Regions from separate parts of the Homo sapiens genome. Here all the other regions are linked to region 1. The links are contacts of gene promoters, found by promoter capture Hi-C in blood cells and fetal thymus (Javierre and others, 2016). All regions are on one chromosome and are shown on one strand. Each heading gives the region's core, a stretch centred on a gene start or on the middle of the fragment in contact. The rest is flanking DNA. Distances are from core to core; before and after follow the strand shown.

Region 1 (3,244 bases), core at 238-2,737:
AAGACCTCCCTGCAAATTCCCACACCCTTCAATGGCTCTAGTTCTTTATCAGTCTCCAGTCCCTTTTAGGCCTAGGAGTGTTAACAGCTTCTCGCTATTGCTAGTCCCTGGGTACGTCACCATGCCTTGTTGATTCCCTTAACCCTTGCTCCTTGGTTAAAAAACCTGTTCAAAAATCCCAGCTGAGAATGCAGCCTGATTCTTGCAAGATCCACCTGTTGGAGCAGAAGTCAGTGCAGGTCAGCAGATGAGTCACTGCAGACTCCCCTTAGCAGGCAGATGGATCCAAAGTTCAGGGGATCTGGTAGCAGGCATCAGACTGCTGGAGACAGGATATCTAGGCTGTGTCTCAACATCAGGTACTGAAGATGCCAGACTTTTGGACTCAAGTCAACATATTTGGAGTGGAGCTGATTTATATGCTTCTTGTTAATGGTCTGGTCTTAATGTGTGTGTGTGTGTGTGTGTGTGTGTGTGTGTTGCGTGGAGGGTGAGAAGTAAGGAGCAAGACTATTCGGAACAGAAGCTTGAGAGTTGAGGCCCTTGGCCCAACCCATGCTGTGCTTAACAAACATAATTCCATGCTAACTAAACCGGAAGTTCTGAACTACAGATAGGGTGTCAAGGAGATTGTGTGTGCGCGTGCATTGTGTGTGTGTGTGTGTGTGTGTGTGTGTAAGGCCCCTCCTCTCAAAGATAAATAATAATGGTCATTTATGAGTGCTTGCTGTGTCAATCACTGTTCTGAGTGCTTTGCTTACAACAACCCTTGTAATCCTGGTAACAACTACATTTAGGAGGGTACAAATATTACACCAACTTTCCAGATGAGGACGTTGGCACAGAGAGATGAAGACCGAGGTCTCACAGTGAGGAACCCTCTGGGTGGAGAATAACCCAGGTACACTGGTTTTAGAGTCCGCTGTCCCCAGCACCACACAATACTGTCTCTGTGCCTGACTCTGGACTTGCGAGGAAGTGTGTTGGTGTATATTATTCACCTTCATGCACTCAGAACCTAGCACCATGCTGGCACGAGGCATGGTTATTTGTTGATTGAATGAATGCACTTTTGCTAGGCCGCGAGGACTGTGGCAAACCCCAACAACCAACAGTTCGTAGGGTTAGATCGCAAACTTTTCTCCGTTGGACGGTGCTGCCGGGCCCACCCTTTCCTTACCACAGCCCGGCACCCAGGCAGCCCCTAAACGGAGATGGTCTGCATCTGCAGGCGCGGGGAAAGGCATAGCAGGCAGCGCCCTGAACAAATCAGAAAAACAGCCTTCGGCTCTGGAGCCCACTCCGGCACGGCCTCAGGTGCTCTACCCCGCGGGATCCAGGGAGTGGCCGCCACTCACAGTTGCCCCTCCTGTCCGCTCCGGTCCGCTCCCGCCGCCCGAGGTCCGCGACGCCCCGCCCAGTGGGTGGAGTGTGAGGCGGGGAGGTCGCTCGACTCGCCGGCGCTGTGGCCTCCCGCGGAGCCGCTCAGACTTTCCCTGCCGGCACATGGACCTGGCCCAACCCTCACAGCCAGTAGACGAGCTGGAGCTCTCGGTGCTCGAGCGGCAGCCAGAAGAGAACACGCCTCTCAATGGTGCCGACAAGGTCTTCCCTTCTTTGGACGAGGAGGTCCCCCCGGCCGAGGTAAGGTCCCCTTGGCGCTGGCCCTAACTTGCCGGCGGCGGGACAGTAGTAGGACCCGGGCCTGGCACCCGCGAGTTTCGGGTTTCCAGTCAGGCGGGGCGTCGACGGCGCCGAGCGAGGGTGGGGCGCGCTCGAGTGCTCTGAATGGAGCCGAGTCACCGCGACACCTTTCGGCCCGAGCAGTCCCCTCCCCAGCCCCTGGGGTCCTCCAACCCCTCTGACCCCCGAGGCGCTTTAGGAATCCTAGTGGTGAGGTGTGGCCGCTGCTGTCTTCAGAGAGGTATTCCGGAGATGGAAGTAGTTTTTTAAAGTTATGTAACTTTTAATTCAGTTTTTCTTTTTTCCAGTAGGGAGAATGAGAATGACAAATTGAGTATCCTCCTTCTCTCAGAATCTCTTCTGTCCTCCTCTTACCTTCACTGCCTTGCCACTTCTCTCCCTCCCCTCCACCCACCTCGCCGCAGCCCCCAGCCTTCTTCCATGCCTACCATCCGCCAAGCACTTTCTGCCTTCTCCCAGCCTGGCCATTGGATTCTGCCGGAAGAGAGATAGGGGAGAGCACAGAGGAGAGAAAGCGGTCAGAAGGGGAGAAGGGGTAGGGCTGGCGTAGAGATGGGGCGGGCGGGTTAGGGGGTCGGCGCGGGGGAGGTGAACTTGCCCTGCTCAATTGAAAGAAAATAATTTCAAAGTTCTTGTCTCGAAGGTTGAGACTTCGCCCACCTTGCTTTTACCTCCTCTCAATCCCTAAGGAAGTCCCTGGCTATTTTTAGGCCAAGCTCTTTTCTGATTCATCCCTAGCAATGATGGGAACATTATTCACTCTCATCAAAGACTTGTAAAACATCAGAGCTTTGACTTCCCAGCCATCCACCTTCTGATTAACTCCTAAGATTGGCTTGAGGTTTTCTGGGTGCACAGAACTCCCCATATAGAGCCCCGACCTGATCTTTCTAGGCCCCACTCCTCCACCCCCAACTTTTTGGCTGCCCAGCTGTTGATTTTAGGGATAAGCAGGAAATTCAAAAGTTGAAAGCATTGCTTTTGTTCTACATTGATTCCTGGAACTATTGCAAAGTCTGCTTTTATAGGTACTCTGGAGAGTAATTTGGAAACTTATTTCTGAATAAAATATGAATGCCACAGAAGAATGAAGGTTGAACAAAGATAGTCTGGTCACCAGTGCAAGTGGCCACAACTGTGAACTGGCTGTATGAGTCCTCCAGGGCGGTGTCCAGGAATGGGAGTTGGAAATACTTGCCTCAGATTAGATGGACCCGCACACCCTAAAGACTCCCTAGCTTGGGGCTGAATCCAGAAATCTGGTGACAGTTTTGCCACTAAGAAGTGTGTCCCAGAGGCAAGCCTGTCCCGTAGTGGTAATGTGTGCCTACTCGGCCTTCTGTGAGGCCTGGGAATGCCTTGTTGAAAACAGGTGGTGGGTAGAACAAGCCAAATCCATGCAGGGTTATCAGTATTCTGTAATTGTTTAGCACCTACCCTGTAGCAATGGTTCTTTAATGTTCTCATGACGTCCTTGTTAGTAAGGTATATACAGATACCCTGGACTTCTTTGTAAGTTAGCTTTGTAGGTCACCCAATA
Region 2 (3,327 bases), core at 396-2,895, 410 kb after region 1:
AAAATTGCAGTAGCCAAACTGATAAATGTGTGCTTGTAGGGAATAATAAGACAGAATATTTAAAACCTGAAAAATCACTGGGCATGGTGGCTCATACCTGTAATCCTAGCACTTTGGGAGGCTGAGGCAGGTGGATCACTTGAGGTCAGGAGCTCCAGACCAGCCTGCCCAACATGCATTGCATCCATAGCTTGGCTGACTTTCTTAAAAAACAGGTTGATGGCAAGAAAAGAGAACTGAGTAGATGTTATAAATAGTTAAGTACAAATCTATCACTACTTCTTGCGAAAATGCTCAGGCTGCCACACTGATGATGAATAGATAGCTCGTTCTTCCCAAACTGAGTGCAGTAGAGTGTTGCAGTGCTCAGTTGGGTAGGACAGATGTTGGATAATTGGGGTTATCCAACATCTCTACTAAAAATACAAAAATTAGCTGTGCGTGGTGGAAGGTGCCTGTAATCCCAGCTACTAGGGACGCTGAGGCAGGAGAATAAATTGAACCCGGGAGGAAGAAGAATCGATTGAACCCGGGAGGCAGAGGATGCAGTGAGGCGGGATCACGCCATTGCACTCCAGCCTGGGTGACGAGAGCAAAACTCTTGTCTCAAAAAAATAAAAAAATAAAACCTGAAAAATCAGAAGCTTCTGATGAGCCACTCATAGGCTTTTCCTCTTGATAATATGTGGGTTCCTATGCAATATAAGGTAGGAAGCGACTTTACAATAAAAAAGAAATTGCCTTTTTTTTTTTTTTTTTTTTTTTGCCTGTATAAAGTCTTTGCAGGGGTGGCTAAATATCATCTTTGCAGAATCCAACTTATTTTCTGTGTTCAATTGACAACCAAGTAGGAACCATTCCCTTTCAACAAAATAGAAGCAATGACGAAAAGTTCTGCTCCTATATTTTGTAGCATTTTCTCAATCGGTATTCTCAAGGCATACATCCCAATGAAGCAAGTATAGAGATTTTATTTAGAGGTAATATTATTTGAGGGTAACCATGGAGATATGTATAATTCCGATTATCCAACAACTGTCCTACCCAACTGAGCACTGCAGCACTCTACTGCACTCAGTTTGGAAAGAACGAGCTATCTATTCATTATCAGTATGGCAGCCAGAGCATTTTTGCAAGAAGTAGTGATAGATTTGTACTTAACTATTTATAACATCTACTCAGTTCTCTTTTCCTACCATCAACATGTTTTTAAGAAAGTCAGCCAAGCTATTGATGCGATGCCTATGATTAGGCAGGTGAATACTATGTTCTAATTTGGTTTATGCTCTACGATGTCTTCGGTAAGCAAATGTAACAGCTTGGTTTCATCTACGATTACCCACTTCGTATAAACGTTACACCGTACTAAGTTCAGCAAGGGAGAATGTTGCCTCCAAGACCCCCTGAGAAATAAAACCAGAAATAACCTAAGCAGGTGCCTTACCATGGATGTTCCAGATGTCCAGATATGGGATTAAGAAGAAGACCCAAAATAATTTCCCAGTTCCAAGCATGGCAGGCAATGTCTTCATTTCCTGCACATATCAGTGATGGAAAAACTGCTCAAGTAGAAGGCTTTGCTTCGTCTTCTGAGTGCTGCAGAGTTGGGTCAGTTTACCTACCCCAGTGGCATCTGTGAAATAACTAAAAAAAAAAAAAAAAGAAGAGAGAGGTGGTAAGAGAGGAGAGTAGGAAGAGCCTGGATGATTTTGTGAAAAAAAGTGAACAGAAAGACGATGTGGTACTCTGTTCTGTGGTTTTTGCTTCTTGTCAGGTTGGCTGTTCACTTTCAAACACTGTGATCTGCAAAGCAGCTCAGTCCTTAACTTCTCCTTCCGCTCTACCACGTTTTTGCCCCAGGTTGAGGTTTTTCCTGCACTCAATGTTCAGTGAAATGAGCAATTAAACTTTAAAGAAATCTGTATTGTTGCAGTCTTTAAGTTGAGATTTTAATCAAATTAAGGTCAGGAAATTTATGGTAAAACTATCAATGGTAAGTATACATTTTCCCCTTTGTGATAGCTTGTGATTATGAAACTTCTTTTATGTAAAAGATTTTAGGTTTCTTTTTTTTCCTGTACATGTCACGGTAAGATGAGGATGCTTATTGTCATTAAACCAGTGAAGATTTATCTCAGGTTATGGAGAAAATGAGTGACAGGAAGCACTTCCTCAACAGAAGAAGGAAGAGCAGCCGTCTTTAATCTGTGGATACATATCAATGGAACAAGATCATCATTAATATTGGCTACATGTTCTCTCTAGATAATAAAGTTCTAATCTAAAGGAGATCTTGAATATCAATTAAAGGAAATTTCCATTTTAAACATTCTTCATGCAGTTGTTGTCTCGATGAAGTAGAATAGAAACAGTAAAGGAAGAAATGGAAAAGTTCAAGATCAGATAGCACAGGCCACCATAGGACTGTTTTCTCCACATCCACTTGTAATAATTAGCTTAGCTTATAGTCATAGGAGCTAATCAAATTCATCTGCCATTTGAGACTCCAAATGAGAGATCTAGATTTGTGGCATTAGTGATCATTGACAGAAGTCGATTATATAAGTTTTTTCCTCAGAGACTGATGATTTTATTCCAAGGCCAAACTTCAATAGTTTTAAGTTCAAGGAAAGTTTTAAGAGCAAGGAAAGTGTATAGATTGCTGGACATTTTGACCTGACATGGGAAACTGATGGGCAATACTTAATTCAGAGCTCCCAGTTGAGTTGCCAAGGGTAAATTAAAATTAAAAAACAGTTATCATGTATTTATTGAGTCAAATAGACAATGTGCTATGGTTGGAGATGAATGATGAATGAGTTGCTATTGCTGATTTTAAAGAACTCGTTCAATCAGTATTACGACTTCCTCACATCCACCTTTAGTGTTGGTCTTATAATATAGTATAATACAGAGAGGGTACACATAGCCTTTTAGAATTTCTGTTACTAATCAAATAAACATCCTGGGAAATATTAAGGCAGTATTTTCACAGCTCCTTCCTTTTCCTGTGTTCACAGTGAGTAAAAGCTTCTTGAGGCAGCTGAAGCAAGGCTCATTGTCCCTTTAAAATGGCCCACAGGTCAAAAGCCATAACCTTATGGCTTATGGGTTACATAAGCCCAAACCAGAGAGAGATCATATTAACTTTATCTCAGCTTAAAACTGTTATGTCACTATTTTAAATATTTTTCATATAAAAAGTCCATGCTAATTAGACAAAATTCGGAAAAAATCTTATGTAGCATCTAATGTATTTTTAAAAGATTTATATATTTCTTGCTTTTATTAGCATGCCTAGCACTTTATCCCTCCACAGGTAGAGTC
Region 3 (3,474 bases), core at 698-3,197, 430 kb after region 1:
CTATAGTTTGCAGGTTGACCTTAGTGCTCTTTTTCATTAACATATATATGCACAAATACCATATTACTTCCATTTCACATAAACTCTGGCAAGTGGAGGTGCCATAAAACCTATGGAGTGCTTGAAAGGGGATCATTCTCCTTGTTTTCTCCTCATTCTTAGATTATTATTTTCTCATTTTTTTTCTTAAAATAACTGAGCTGTGGCCTAGCGTTTTTGTGTGGTGATGTGTGCTGCTTGCACTCAAGACTCCACAGTGTGTTACCATTGAGTCATTTTCACCCTCTTAAGTGTTTCAGTTTCTCTCTCCAGAGGTCTATGACCTGTGAGAGGACTCAAAACGCCAGGTGACCAGCCCTTATATGCATTTCCTGGATGAGCCTTTTTAAAAAATAATTTTTGTTGGGTGTTTCCCTGTAGGGCTGCTGCACAGGGGTTCAACCCCCCTAACCCCTTGCCCAGATACACCCACAAGGCCTCTGGTCACTCAGCTGAGTCAAGTATGTACTACAGTTAATTTTGTGTAGTTTAATACTGCCTTTACATTTGTTTATATTTTTCTGAACTTCAAATTGCACCATGTATGGTGTGTGTTTGCTTGTGTCAGTTTTGATAAATAACTTTTTATATTTTGTTATATGTTATATGCTCATGACATAACTTTTTCTTAATTTTTTTGTTATCTCTAGGCTAAGTGGTTCATCTGAGTTTTTTCAAATCGTCACAAATCTCCAAAAAAAATTCCAATATATGTATTGAAAAAAATCCACATATAAGTCAACCTGCACATTTCAAACATTTCAAACCTGTGTTTTCAATGGTCAACTGCAATTTGGGTAAAGTGTATGGATTCCTGTAAATTCCTTTAAAATGCATTTTAAAAGATGAATTAAATGGATGGGTAAAGGTACAGATAGAAGGATAGTTATATTGTTACTATAGTAAAATGTTAATGGTAGAATCAAGATGGTGTGCATTAGTGTTTGCTGTAAAATGAATTCAAACTTTGTTGTATGTTGTAAATAAAATGTTGGGAGAAAAGATGCTTTCACTTGTAAGTGCAAATAAAAACTAATTTTATTTTTAAAAATGCTAAATAATACATTCTAATATTATTAGTGACAGTGTAGATATATAAGAACTCATGTTTTTTTAATTTTTGTGGTGAGTGTATAAATTAGTATAAACTATTTAGAAGATAGCTTAAAATTATTGTATATATTAAAATAGTAAAGTGGCTGCCAACTTTGTATTCTTACTTCCAAGAATTTACTCCATGGGAATTATCACACAAGTGTGCAAAGATGTAATCAAGACATAAGTCTTGATTATAACAGAAAAAATATAAGCAAATTAAATGACCTGTTAGATGATTAATTGAACATCCATACAACTAAATACTAGGTAAGCATTGTTAATCATAATATAGATCTATTAATATATTTCTTAAAGAAGACGGTCCCCTCATATTGTTTAGTGACGAGGATTACAGGAATACATAAATGGTACAATCCCAGTTTTGGTTAATGCATACATATCCATATACTCATTTACATATATTCATGAACATATACATCTATATATGTATTTAGACACAAAGGGCTCATTAAAAGAATATTCATCAAAATGTCAAAAATATTAGCTCCAAGAGATAATAATGAACCTGATTTTTTATTTTCTTCTTTGTACTTGTTTGCAATTTTTACAATGAACTCATAATCCTTTACAAAAGCACTAATTATTATTTGAGGTTGTGTAGGGGGGAGTAAGACAGAAGGAGAAGGAAATATAGTCCAATAATGAAATAAAATGAAGCAGCCTTTATGTGTTTGTATGGATTGATCTCCAAGATTTTTTATGTGATCATTATAGACTGAAGTGTGTTACACCAAATTTCATGCTGAACTTCTAATACCCAATACCTAATAATGTGACTATGTTTATAAATAGGGTCTTTAAAGAGGTAACTAAGTTAAAATGAAGTCAGTAATGTAGGCCCTTATCGAATATGATTTATGTCCTTGTAAGAAGAGGAATTTTGTACAGATATTGACACAGATTCTAACTTGACCAAACTTCAGTCAGGCTCCCTAACCTTCTCCTAGGCCCATCTGTGCACCTCCTTGTAAAATCTGCTTTATCCAAAAACTCATTTAGTAAGAACCCCTCTCCCCCAGTAGCTGATCAACCGTGACATCTGATCAAGTTCCTCATCCTCCACTATCCCACAGGTAATAAATCACCTTGTTCTGTTTTTAGCAAGAATCCTGTGAAGTTGGTTTAGCTGAAATCTTCCTCACCCCTGATGTTTCCTTTTAGTAATTTTCCATCCATTGACCCCCACCCTGCTCCTTGGCTATAAATTCCCACTTGCCCATGCTGTGTTTGGAATTAAGTCCAATCTTTCTCCCAGGCTGCAAAATCTCATTGTGGTGTTACCTATACCTATTGCAATGGTCCTGAATAAAGTCTTCTTCACTGTGCTTTAATAAGTATTATTATTATTATTATTTTTGCATTTCTCATTTTCTTTGTAACATATTAAGTGTGTTTGCTTTATGTTCTCTGTTTTACAATTTCAAGATCTGAACTTTAGTTTTTTATTTTATTTTACATTCCAGGGTACATAACCTGCAGGATGTGCAGGTTTGTTACATAAGTAAACACAGGTAAACATGTGCCATGGTGGTTTGCTGCACCTATTAACCCATCACCTAGGTATTAAGCTCAGTATACACTAACTACTTTTCTTGATGCTCTCCCTCCCCCAACCCCCACCGACAGGCCCCAGGGTGTGTTGTTCCCCTCCCTGTGTCCATGTGTTCTCACTGTTCACCTCCCACTTATAAGTGAGAACATGTGGCCTTTGGTTTTCTGTTCCTGTGTTAGTTTGCTGAGGATAATGGCTTCCAGATCCAACCATGTTCCTGCAAAGGACATGATCTTGTTCCTTTTTATGGCTGCATAGTATCCCATGATGTATATGTACCACATTTTCAATCTATCCATCTGACAAAGGTCTAATATCCAGAGTATACAAAGAACTTAAACAAATTTACAAGAAAAAAAAAACCCCATTAAAAAGTGGGCAAAGGACATGAACAGATACTTCTCAAAAGAAGTACAGCCAACAAACATATGAAAAAAAGCTCAACATCCCTGATCATTAGAGAAATGCAAATCAAAACCGCAATGAGATACCATCTCACACCAGTCAGAATGGTGATTACTAAAAAGTCAAAAAACAACAGATGCTGGTGAGGCTGTGGAGAAATAAGAACAGTTTTACACTGTTGGTAGGAATGTAAATTAGAACAACCATTATGGAAGACAGTGTGGTGATTTCTCAAGGACATAGAACCAGAAATACCATTTGACCCAGCAATTCCATTACTGGGTATATACCCAAAGGAATATAAATCATTCAATTATAAAGATACATGCACATATATGTTCATTGCAGCACTATTCACA
Region 4 (3,661 bases), core at 818-3,317, 390 kb after region 1:
AGAACTTGGAAAATTAGCTGAGATTGAAAGGAGGGGTAGAATTTCCATAGGTGGAGACAGATGAATGGGTGCTCTACAAGTGGCAAGAGCAGCATACACAGGGCAATGATGGAGATGTGGTTATGGCAAGTAAGGCCGTCAGGCTGCAATTGAGAGGCTGTATATGGAATCCAGAAACAATCTAGAAAGGTGGTGGGATCAAACTGTGGAAGACTTTGAATGCTGGTTAACAAAGATGAGCCCAATATTGTGACCACTGGGGATGCTATGCAAGAGAGTGTTGTTATGAAGGAAGTGTATGAGGTAATTTAAGTGTATTTGGCTGAAATTGACCAAAATGGGGAAATACTAAAGACAAAGAGTCCAATCATAGAATTAATTGGAATTATTTAGAAGGAAGATAATGATGGTGCGAGATGCTTATAGAAGCAATTGGAGGAAACACATCACAGAGTGGAATGTTGTGGAGAGACAAGAGTAGGAAGCCAAAGAAAATTCTCTGGGATTTTCCATGAGGATCAAGAGCATTAATTAACAAACTGATAAGGAAGGGAGTGATAGGAAGGATAGGTGAGTAGGAAACTAAGAGAGTAGAAATGTTCAAAAAGAAACTGACAAGGCCCTTCATGTCTCCTATTTAGCTCTTAGACTTTCTCTTTCACCACTTCATACTTCACATACTTTGTTCCATAAAACCCCCCAAGGCACAGGATTTAGGAGGGAATGTTATTCCCTTTCCCCTAAAGTTGGGTTCTTTCCTCCACAAAATAGATAGATTGTTGATCCTAATCTCAGCCCCAACTTGATCCCTAGAACAGGCACCTTTATGCACTTTACAAACTACAGATTATCTTTAGTCATCATGAATGACCCAAATATGGGATAGAGCAGAAATTGCAATGCTACTTTTGTGTAACAGACTTTTGTATCACAATTAATTATTAACTTCTGACCTTTCATCTGACCTTGGCTAAATTCATGTCTCGTATAGAAGTAGATTAGTTCCCATAAAGAAAGACTGAATTACACAAGGCTTCTCTTCCAAGGAAGGTGGACTCAATGCCTCAAAATTTAATTTTATTATACATTATGTTAATATATTATATAAATTAGTTAATAGCACTTATTTATTCAATAGTATATATCATTCTAGAATTAATATTTTGCAGATTTTCCTTATTTTTGTAATTTATTTTACCTGTTTAAAAAATAGTATTTGTTAAAAATTCAATATTTTGTCTCATTAATGTGAATTAATAATGCAATTCTTTCCAGAAAGTGTTCATTCCATACATCCTTAATATAGCCTTCTCCAGGTTGATGAAGACAATTTTTGTGCTTTGCATATACTATGTTCTTTAATTCATTTACAAAGAAATATTTAGTGAGCCCCTACCATGTGCCAGGTACCCTGCCATCCATCATACAGAGCAAAGATGTTTAAGACACAGCTTCCATCCTGAAGAGGTTTATAAGCCAGTGCATGGATGGTCACAAGTAACTAGCACCGAGCTTCACGCTATATTTGCAAAAGCAGAGTCCCTAACTCTGCCATCGATTTCTTCTATATTTCATAATTGAGGGTTGTAGCTACTGCTAAACTGCTATGCATTTTTTCATGGTGCTGCTGTAAGAAATTTTAAACTAACCTAAAGCATTTTAAAAGAATTTCAATGGATTCCTTCACTGGGCTACTTTAAGGGAGTTGAAAGACACTCAAAAGTAAGCATATAAAGTAACAAATTAATTTTAAAAAGATCAGTTGTAAAATGTATGCATTCAAGTGAATGATGTCCATAAAGGAACTAAACTGTACGAGGTTGCATCCAGAGTTCAGCCATGCTGCTATTGCAATAACCCTCTTTTGAAATTTCTCCTTCCCAGTAACTTTAAGGGTCAATTTATGAGCAACAAAAGAAACTCCACATTATTTCTTATAATTAAAGGGCACTCTTCTTTGATCCAAATATATTTTTATTGTGGTAAAATACATATAACATAAAAGTTACCAATTTAATCATTTAAAATGTACAATTAAATGGCATGTAAGATACTCACAATGTTTTGCAAACGTGACTACGATCTAGATTCAGAACATATTTATCACCCCAAAAGGAAGCCCTCTACCTATTTAGTAGTCATGTCACATTCTTTATTTCCTCAGCCCCTGGCAACCACCAAGCTACTTTCTGTCTCTATGGATTTGCCTATTTTGGATATTTCATATAATCAGAATCACATTGTATGTAACCTTTTTCTTCTTTTACTTAGCGTAATGCTTCTGAGGTTCATCAATGTTGTAGCATACATTAGTACTTCATTCCTTTTCATGACTGAATAATATTCCGTGTGTGGATAAACTACATTTCCTTTATCCATTCATCAGCTGAACATTTAGGTTGTTTCTACCTTTTGGCTATTGTGAATAGTGCTGTGATAAACATTCAGGAACAAGGTTTTGTGTGAACATATATTTTAATTTCATTTGAGTATTTACCTAGGAATAGAATTACTGGGTACTGTGACAAGTAGGTTTTATCTTTTGATTTTGAGGAACTGTTAGACCACTTTCTAAAGTGACTGCACCATTTTACATTCTCCTCAGCAATGGATAGGGTTTCTATTTCTTCACATCCTTGCTAACACTTATTATTTTCTGTGTTTTTTTTTTTTATTCTAGTCATTCGATGGGTGTGAAGTGGGTTTTCACTGTGACTTTGATTTGCATTTCTCCAGTAACTAATGACATTGAGCATTTTTTTCATATGTTTATTGGCCATTTGTATATTTTCTTTGATGAAATGTCTATTCAAGTCCTTTGCTCATTTTAAAATTAGGTTGCCAGTCTATTTGTTGTTGAATTTTAGTATCTTTTGATGCACAGAAGTGTTTAATTTTTATGAAGTCCAATTTATCTATTTTTGGTGTTATTGTTGATTATGCTTTTGTAATCATAGCTAAGAAAACACTGCTAAATCCAAGATCAGAAACATTTATCCCTATGTTTTCTCCTAAGAAATCAGAGTTTTATTGTTTTATATAATGCAGTTTTTATAGTTTTAGCTCTTCTACTTAAATGTCTGACTTATTTTGATTGCTTAAAATATGGAGTGAGATGAGGGTTCAAATTAATTCTTTTACATATGAATATCCAATTATCCTGGCACCATTTATTGAGACTATTCTTTCCCCACTGAATAATCTTGGTACCCTTATCAAAAATCAATTGACTACGGATGTATGGAGTTTATTCTGGACTCTCAATTCTATTTACATTGATCTCTTTGTCTATCCATGACAATACTATTCTTTTTTTTTTTTTTTAACTGTCATTTTGTAGTAAGTTTTGAAATAGGGAAGTCTTAGCTTCAGTTTTGTTCTTTTTCAAGATTGTTTTGGCAATTCTGGGTCTGTTGCAACTCAATGTGAATTTTAGGATCAGCTTTTTTATTTCTGCAATAGCAACAAAAAGCTGTTAGGATTTTAGTGGAACTGCATTGAATCTGTAGATCACCTTGGGGAATATTGCTATCTTTACAATATTACATCTTTCAGTCCATGAATACAGAATGTCTTTGCATTTATTTACATATTCTTGAATTTCTTTCAGCCATGCTTTCTTTGTTCAGTGTACAACTCTTATACCTCTTTGGTTAAATTT
Region 5 (3,219 bases), core at 693-3,192, 460 kb after region 1:
ATTTTATCATGCTACTCCCAACAGTGGGGACAAAAATTAAAACTGATGAATTATTTCTGGAATTTGGCACTTAATATTTTTGGACCATGGTTGACTACATAACTGAAACCACAGAAAGCAAAACCTACTCTGTATACATCCTATGGGTTGTTTCTCTAGAGAACCATGACTAATACACAAGCTAATAGAAGAAAACGCCCAGGAAAAGCAAGGATAAAGCAAGGGAAACTGAGTTGAAAAAGGAACCAGTATCTGGCCTCATAAGTCACTAACTTGACATCAAAAACAATGCACAATCAATGGATCCAGTCAGTCAACAGAGAATTTCCTACTGATGTGTTGCCAACATCTTCCAGGCATGGAAAAGTCAAAGCAGAAGAGTTAAAAGACTTTCACTACTCAGTGGGGCGGGGGGAAAGAAGGATGATTTTTGAAATTACTTTTAAAAGTTTTTCAATCTGTTATTTCCTTTAGGCTTTGATATAGCACTCGACTCATTAATAAGCCAATAAATTTCAGATCAAGGAGCCCAAGTCCTGAATCTTTGCCTATAACTCCATAAGGAAAGAGATGGCAGTATCCTTTATTCAGAGTAGGGGAGAAACTGACCTAAGAAGGAACTTTTACCTGGGCAGATACTTAGCCCTCTGTCTACTGCAGTGAGTCTCAACTGAAGGCAGCAATTTTTCCCCCAACAGAACATTCAGCAATTTCTGGAGGCATTTTTGGTTGTTAAAACTGAGGGATGCTACTGGTATCCAGTGGTTACAGGCCAGAGATACTGGTAAGCATTCTACAATGCACAGAAAATAATTATCCATTCCAAAAAACAGTGCCAAGGTTGAGAAACCCTGTTCTATTACTACTAAGGATATACCTCCTAATCTCTAGGACTCGAAGGGAGAAAAACATATTTAGTATCATGGACTTAAACTTAGAGCACATTTTCCATTCCAAAAAACAGTGCCAAGGTTGAGAAACCCTGTTTTATTACTACTACTAAGGATATAACTCCTAACCTCTAGGACTCAAAGGGAGAAAAATTTGTTTTTAGTATCATGGATTTAAACTTAGAGCACATTTTCTTCATCAAAACTAAGTAATAAATGGTAGTTAGCTTCAGCAGCATATGATAATATGCATGTACATAGTTATATAAATATAGTGGCAAAACAGTGTTTTAGGACTTAGAATAAAAAAGTATATTCAGGGTTTCAAATAACTCATAGAAACACTTATAAAAACCTTGCATTCAACTCATTTAACAAATATTTACTGAACAACTTCTACATCATACACTGTGATAGATACTGAGAATTCAACAATGAATCTTTACCTTCATGGAGCTTACAGTACTGAAAATTTCTTTTAGTCGTTATTTAACAAATAATTATTAAATACTTAATAGATGTCAGTTCTCTGGGTAAATGTGAATACAGTATAGTTCCTGTCATAGAGGAGCACATAATCCAGCAATGGAATGACAATGACATGTAAGCAAGAGACTGTAAAGCAAAGTAGTATGCATATTCAGCATCTCTGACGGTCTTTTTTTTCCCTCTCTGTATTTAGAAACTAAGAAAATAATATTTTCAAATTGCAATGGAAGTAGCAGGTATTATAGAAATTTGGCATACTCTGGCCGGGCGCAGTGGCTCATGCCTGTAATCCTAGCACTTTGGGAGGCCGAGGCAGCCAGATGACGAGGTCAAGAGATGGAGACCATCATGACCAACATGGTGAAACCCCATCTCTACTAAAAATACAAAAATTAGCTGGGCGTGGGGGTGCACACCTGTAGTCCCAGCTACTCGGGAGGCTGAGGCAGGAGAATCGCTTGAACCCGGGAGGTGGAGGTTGCAGTGAGCAAAGATCGCACTCCAGCCTGGTGACAGAGCAAGACTCTTGTCTCAAAAAAAGAAATAAATTTGGCATACTCTAAAGGCTTCTTTTTTAAAATTTGTCCTCCTGCTTTTTTCATGTAAGTCTATTGGGACAAAACTATGCCTTATGTATCCTCTTTTTTAAATCAAGGCTATTATAAAAGATTGTGAAAGAGTTTAATTTAAACTAAATATATGTCATTTTATTCTCCTCTTACCTGTGTTGTGATATGTATCTACCCATCCGCCATCACCATCATCTTCTTCAATGATAGCTTCCAATTCATCTGAATATTCCATCTGTTTGCACCGCTTATAGCACGGCACTATAAAAAAAATGGTAAATACAGTTAACTAGCACGTAATCTGCTAACCATAAATCCATTAGAAAGAAGAGAGCTTAGTCCATAAAATAGGGTGTTTATACCACCAAAGTACTAAGTGAATATTTCACTTTTAAAGGTGATTAAGAGTTACATTCAGCTCATAGACACATAATTATTTGGCTACATTTACCTTTTCCTAAATTGCTTTGTCAGAAGACAAGTAGAAAAGCTCTATTGGGAATGTTCTATGCATTCCTTTACCATGATGGTCTGTGAAGAACAGCAGGCTGATGTCAGAGATACATATCATAGTTCAATTTCAGTCTAATGAATAATAATACCTTATTTTAATGGCTTTACTTTCAGAACATGGAGCTACCAGCTATCATAGTCAGTGGTGGTAAAGGTGAACTCTTGTTTTCAAGGCTAAAGTAACTTTCAATATAAATTTTATAATTCATATTTAAGTTCCAGTTATTCACAATGGATAAAACAGTTTAAAATTCACCAACCTTCTGATTTTTACTTCTTTATACCACACTAGTAAGTTGTTCATACAGCAAATGTGTCAATTAACAGGTATTATTATTCATAAGCCTAAGATTGGGTAATTATATGGTAAAAGCATTATGGTATAAGGTCAACAAATTGCTTTTTAATCTCCTGATTTTTTTAAAACAATCAGGATATAAATTATCAGCCTTTGTAAAAAGAAATATGCTGTAGAAAAGAAAAAACTGCTGTTCTGTTCACTTTATTTTCCCTTTCCTATAATGAGTAAATTGGAACAGAAATCAATGTATTGTTTTGTGATTAGTTAGGAACTATAACAACCTTTTGATGTTGTTTTTAAATTTAACTTCATAAATAAAACACTACCTGTTTCAGCCAGGCGCGGTGGCTCACACCTGTAATCCCAGCACTTTGGGAGGCCAAGGTGGGCAGGTCACCTGAGGTCAGGAGGTCGAGACCAGCCTGACCAACATGGCAAAACCCTGTCTCTACTAAAA
Region 6 (3,499 bases), core at 640-3,139, 390 kb before region 1:
ACTTGATGACATCTAATTTTATGTTGTTAAAAATAAAAAGTTTAAGAACATCCTCAGAATTTTCTGTCTTATACTTGCAAATTGTGTAGTCACTGTATTTATTTCCAAGTACTGACATAGGAGCAGACTAGAGATATTAATAATTTATAATTTTAGTTTTAGTGCCAATTTGAATTTCAACTGTAGAATACTATGATCCAAACTTACTCCTTTTGATGTTGATTTTGGGTGTAACCTAAAATAAATGACTTAAACTACAGACTTCATTTTTCCTAGCCCTAAATGTTAATTGCCATGACAGATCCTCAAATATAAATATTTACTGAGGTTTCATGGCTTTATTTAAAAACCAGAATTATTTGTTTCTCAGATAGTATCATCCAAATAAAAGATGACACAAATTTCTTAATAATTAATAATAATAACATGTTTGAGCTCATTCTATTAGCCAAGGACTCTTCTGGGTGTTTGCCTGAGTTAACTCATTTAGTCTTCACAACAGACCAATGAAGTTAGTACTGCTGTTGTCCACATTGTGCAGATGAGGAAACTGAGGCCCAGCATTTTATTCACATAACTAGTAGGCAGTAGAGCCAGGATTATGAACTCAGGCAGCCTGACAACAGACTCTGTGCCCCTATCCACTGCGGGGACACTCCATTTAGCTTATTCAGAGCTATGGTAATTCACTAAGTTAGGTGTTAGGACTCACCATTTGTGAAGTTCTTTCTTAACTAGTATCTTACAAAGTGCAAGTCTGAGTCCTTTGGGACTGTGTAGACAGAAAAATGATTTGTTGGTAGTCCTGGAAATTGCAAGTGAGAATACTTAAAAAGATTACTGGAAAAGAAGAAATTCAGTGGTTCCCAACCCATTAGTGTTCTAGAGACAGGGGATGGGAATAGAACCTTCCAGTACTGGGTCACCTTATGGATGGGAGGGAAACATTGCTGGAGGCATTGAGAGGCAGGCCAATTAAGGATAAAAAGAGACAGTGTCAGAGGTTCAGCCCAGACAAGCCAGGAACCTCAGTCTAGGGTGGTGGTCTGTCTCAGCCTTTTGTTCATAATCACTCCCTGAAGGAGTCTTATTAGGCATTTCTATTCCTTATTTCCCCCCCTCCTCCCCTGTGAAATTATAACACTCAGATGTATCTGTACTTTGTACATAGAAGAATAAGATTTTTCACTCCCTAAGAACAAATTTTTGCAATGTCAGTGCCTAAAGGCACAGATACACTGAATGGTGTCAATACACATGGGGTGGGGAGAGTGGGATCAGTGAAGCACCTGCAGGAACTAATGGGCTTCAAAGTTAGAAGGACTTAGAGACAGGAGGACCTAAGGGAGGTGAAGACAGGAGGTTTTCTTAAATATGTGAAGTCAGGAGTTCTTTGACTTAGGGTCACCATCCTCACCTACCCAGATGGGGAGTTTCTCTCTATCTTCTTATAAGCTTCACTTAACTCTTGTCTCAATCTTCCCTCCATGGCTACAAGTGTGGTCATCATGTAATCTGAAATGCCATTGTACTGTAATGAAATGTATCATTTCATAGTGTGTGTTTTGAATTCTTTTTGTTTTATTTATAAACCAGGTTCCCAAGAAGCCTGCTTTAAATTCTTTTTATTTGAGCTCAGAAAATGGCAGCTACTCCAATTTGCAAGAAATGGGTAATGAAAGTGCTTTAAAAACTAGAATGCACTCATTTGAGATCTCTAATCCCCAAATGGCAACCCTCAGGAAGAATCAAGCAGTAATTTGTGTTCCAGATAAAGAGCAAACTGATTGTGCCTGGTCTTCACAAGGCCAGCTAGCTCATTTTCTCATACCTTACCTCTCAAATAATCTAACACTACCTAGGAGGCAATAACTATAACACTGAGTAAAAATCTTGCTAACCTTTTCGCATTCAAATCTCTCTCTTCCCGTGTGACTTTGCTGCCACAGGGACTTGATTCTGAGCTCTGTAACCTAGCGCACATCCCAAGGATCCTAGTAAACCTTAAGTAACCTAATCTAATCACATACTAGGAGGCATGATAAGGAAACCAAGGCCTCCCAATATTTTTCTTCTTCACAAACAAGCTGTGGTTATTTAATTGGTTAAAGGGCAGGGTGTATCTTAGAACAAAAGGAGTGATGAAGAAAGCATCTACCAATACATGGGAAAGGCACTTCACCAGATTATTATTTGAAGGTTTGAAAGTACTAGAAGTCCAGCCAGAGAAGACCATGCCCAGAAATCAGAGAACTTTTGGGAAACTATAATCTTACATTTGTGGCTGTAAGTATCAAGCCTGGGTATACATTAGAATCAGCAAGAAGCTTGTCAGCTTCCGTCCCAGAGAGATTTTGACTTAGAAGGTTTGGGGTGAGCTCATGGGCACTGGTGTTTTTTAAAAGCGCCCCCTGCTCTGCCACCTCCCAGTGATTCTGATATGCATCTAAGGTTGAGGATCACCACTTTACATTATAAAGTGCTTTCACATACATGATTCAGGATTTTTGTATGCACACAGAAAGGAAAAAGAAACACCGTTAATGACTGTTGACTGTAAAAGAAAATAGGAAGAAACAGGGGTAGTAATTGTGAAAATGAAAGGATTAGAGAAAAGTCAATTTCTAGAAACTGGAGGAAAAAAACTTCACCTTTCTAAGGGCTAAAATTAGTCCTATGCATATAGAACATTAAGGAGGGACTTGTATGTCCATATTTACTGCTATATATGGAATAGTTTTTAGATGACCATAAAATTCTCAGCACAGAGAAGTCTGAAAACAGTCATTTAGTATTTGATGCCAATTACTTCCTAAGATCATATTGCTTCTCCTCTATAAATGAAATATATTGGAGAAGAGGAAAAAAAAAATTTGTTGTTAGTAAAAAGGTGTGTTAGAAAATGTCATATTAATATTCGTATGTGTATTTCAGGACTGTATAGACAGACAATATACCTCAGCAGGCTCTTAACAGCTTTCAGATAGTTATAATTAATAATTCTGCAGGTGAAAACTGGCAAGTGGATGATCTTGGATATAACTGAAGGATGAAGTAAAGCCAATGCTGTGGGCTCTCAGACTGTGTAGGGCGGGGCGGGGGGTCAGGGGCAGAATATAAAAGTCAGGTTGCAGCGTGGCAGAAGTAAAGAAACTTGTGATCAAAAAGTCAGAAATTAAATTTTAAGATTTTCAATGTGGGTGATGACAAACTTAGACTGTGACCAAAACAGTGGTGGTGGCTATAGTCAACAGAGTGGAGGCTAAGTTTTCATCTCCATGTCAGCTAATAAGATAGAGAGGAACAATGAATCAGGTACAGAAAATAAAATCTTCTAGACCATCAGTATTTAAGGCAAGAAGCTTCAGTTAATCAGCCCTTCACACTCTGATTTCTGACTAATTAAAAATGGCTAATAATAGCAATAATTACAGTTCAGCACTTACTAAGTGTCAGTATTGTTCAAAGCACTTTGCTTACATTTCAATATTCACAATAA

Evidence for each region. Contacts are between HindIII fragments. The CHiCAGO score rates a contact against its expected background, and 5 or more counts as called.
Region 2: the fragment with the promoter of BTLA here is called in contact with the fragment with the promoter of C3orf52 in region 1 in 2 of 17 cell types (non-activated CD4 T cells and naive CD4 T cells); the score reaches 6.4 in non-activated CD4 T cells.
Region 3: a fragment that was not itself captured here is called in contact with the fragment with the promoter of C3orf52 in region 1 in 4 of 17 cell types (total CD4 T cells, naive CD8 T cells, naive CD4 T cells and 1 more); the score reaches 6.2 in total CD4 T cells.
Region 4: a contact is called between a fragment that was not itself captured here and the fragment with the promoter of C3orf52 in region 1, in 2 of 17 cell types (non-activated CD4 T cells and M2 macrophages). The highest score is 6.0, in non-activated CD4 T cells.
Region 5: a contact is called between a fragment that was not itself captured here and the fragment with the promoter of C3orf52 in region 1, in 2 of 17 cell types (non-activated CD4 T cells and total CD4 T cells). The highest score is 6.0, in non-activated CD4 T cells.
Region 6: a contact is called between a fragment that was not itself captured here and the fragment with the promoter of C3orf52 in region 1, in 1 of 17 cell types (endothelial precursors). The highest score is 7.7, in endothelial precursors.

What each region holds. Positions count from the first base shown.
Region 1 is chr3:112,084,902-112,088,145 of GRCh38, forward strand. It overlaps C3orf52 (chromosome 3 open reading frame 52), which reads left to right and starts at 1,488. Exons shown (of 6, transcript NM_024616.3): 1 at 1,488-1,644. The coding sequence starts at 1,507. RefSeq lists an enhancer at 1,150-1,666 and silencers at 1,183-1,232, 1,283-1,332, 1,353-1,402. The HindIII fragment of the contact is 3,182 bases long and covers 525-3,244 here.
Region 2 is chr3:112,497,827-112,501,153 of GRCh38, forward strand. BTLA (B and T lymphocyte associated) reads right to left here and starts at 1,646. Exons shown (of 5, transcript NM_181780.4): 1 at 1,445-1,646. The coding sequence starts at 1,532. RefSeq lists enhancers at 110-229, 1,098-1,147, 1,238-1,367. The HindIII fragment of the contact is 2,386 bases long and covers 643-3,028 here.
Region 3 is chr3:112,514,452-112,517,925 of GRCh38, forward strand. No RefSeq gene overlaps it. Among named protein-coding and RNA genes, the nearest start is that of BTLA, 17 kb to the left of the region's middle. The HindIII fragment of the contact is 7,313 bases long and covers 1-3,474 here.
Region 4 is chr3:112,474,697-112,478,357 of GRCh38, forward strand. All of the region lies in intron 2 of BTLA (B and T lymphocyte associated), which reads right to left. Among named protein-coding and RNA genes, the nearest start is that of BTLA, 23 kb to the right of the region's middle. The HindIII fragment of the contact is 4,154 bases long and covers 1-3,661 here.
Region 5 is chr3:112,546,432-112,549,650 of GRCh38, forward strand. ATG3 (autophagy related 3) reads right to left here. Exons shown (of 12, transcript NM_022488.5): 5 at 2,102-2,209. Among named protein-coding and RNA genes, the nearest start is that of ATG3, 14 kb to the right of the region's middle. The HindIII fragment of the contact is 5,639 bases long and covers 1-3,219 here.
Region 6 is chr3:111,697,749-111,701,247 of GRCh38, forward strand. The region is part of intron 1 of PLCXD2 (phosphatidylinositol specific phospholipase C X domain containing 2); the gene reads left to right. Among named protein-coding and RNA genes, the nearest start is that of PLCXD2-AS1, 22 kb to the left of the region's middle. The HindIII fragment of the contact is 872 bases long and covers 1,454-2,325 here.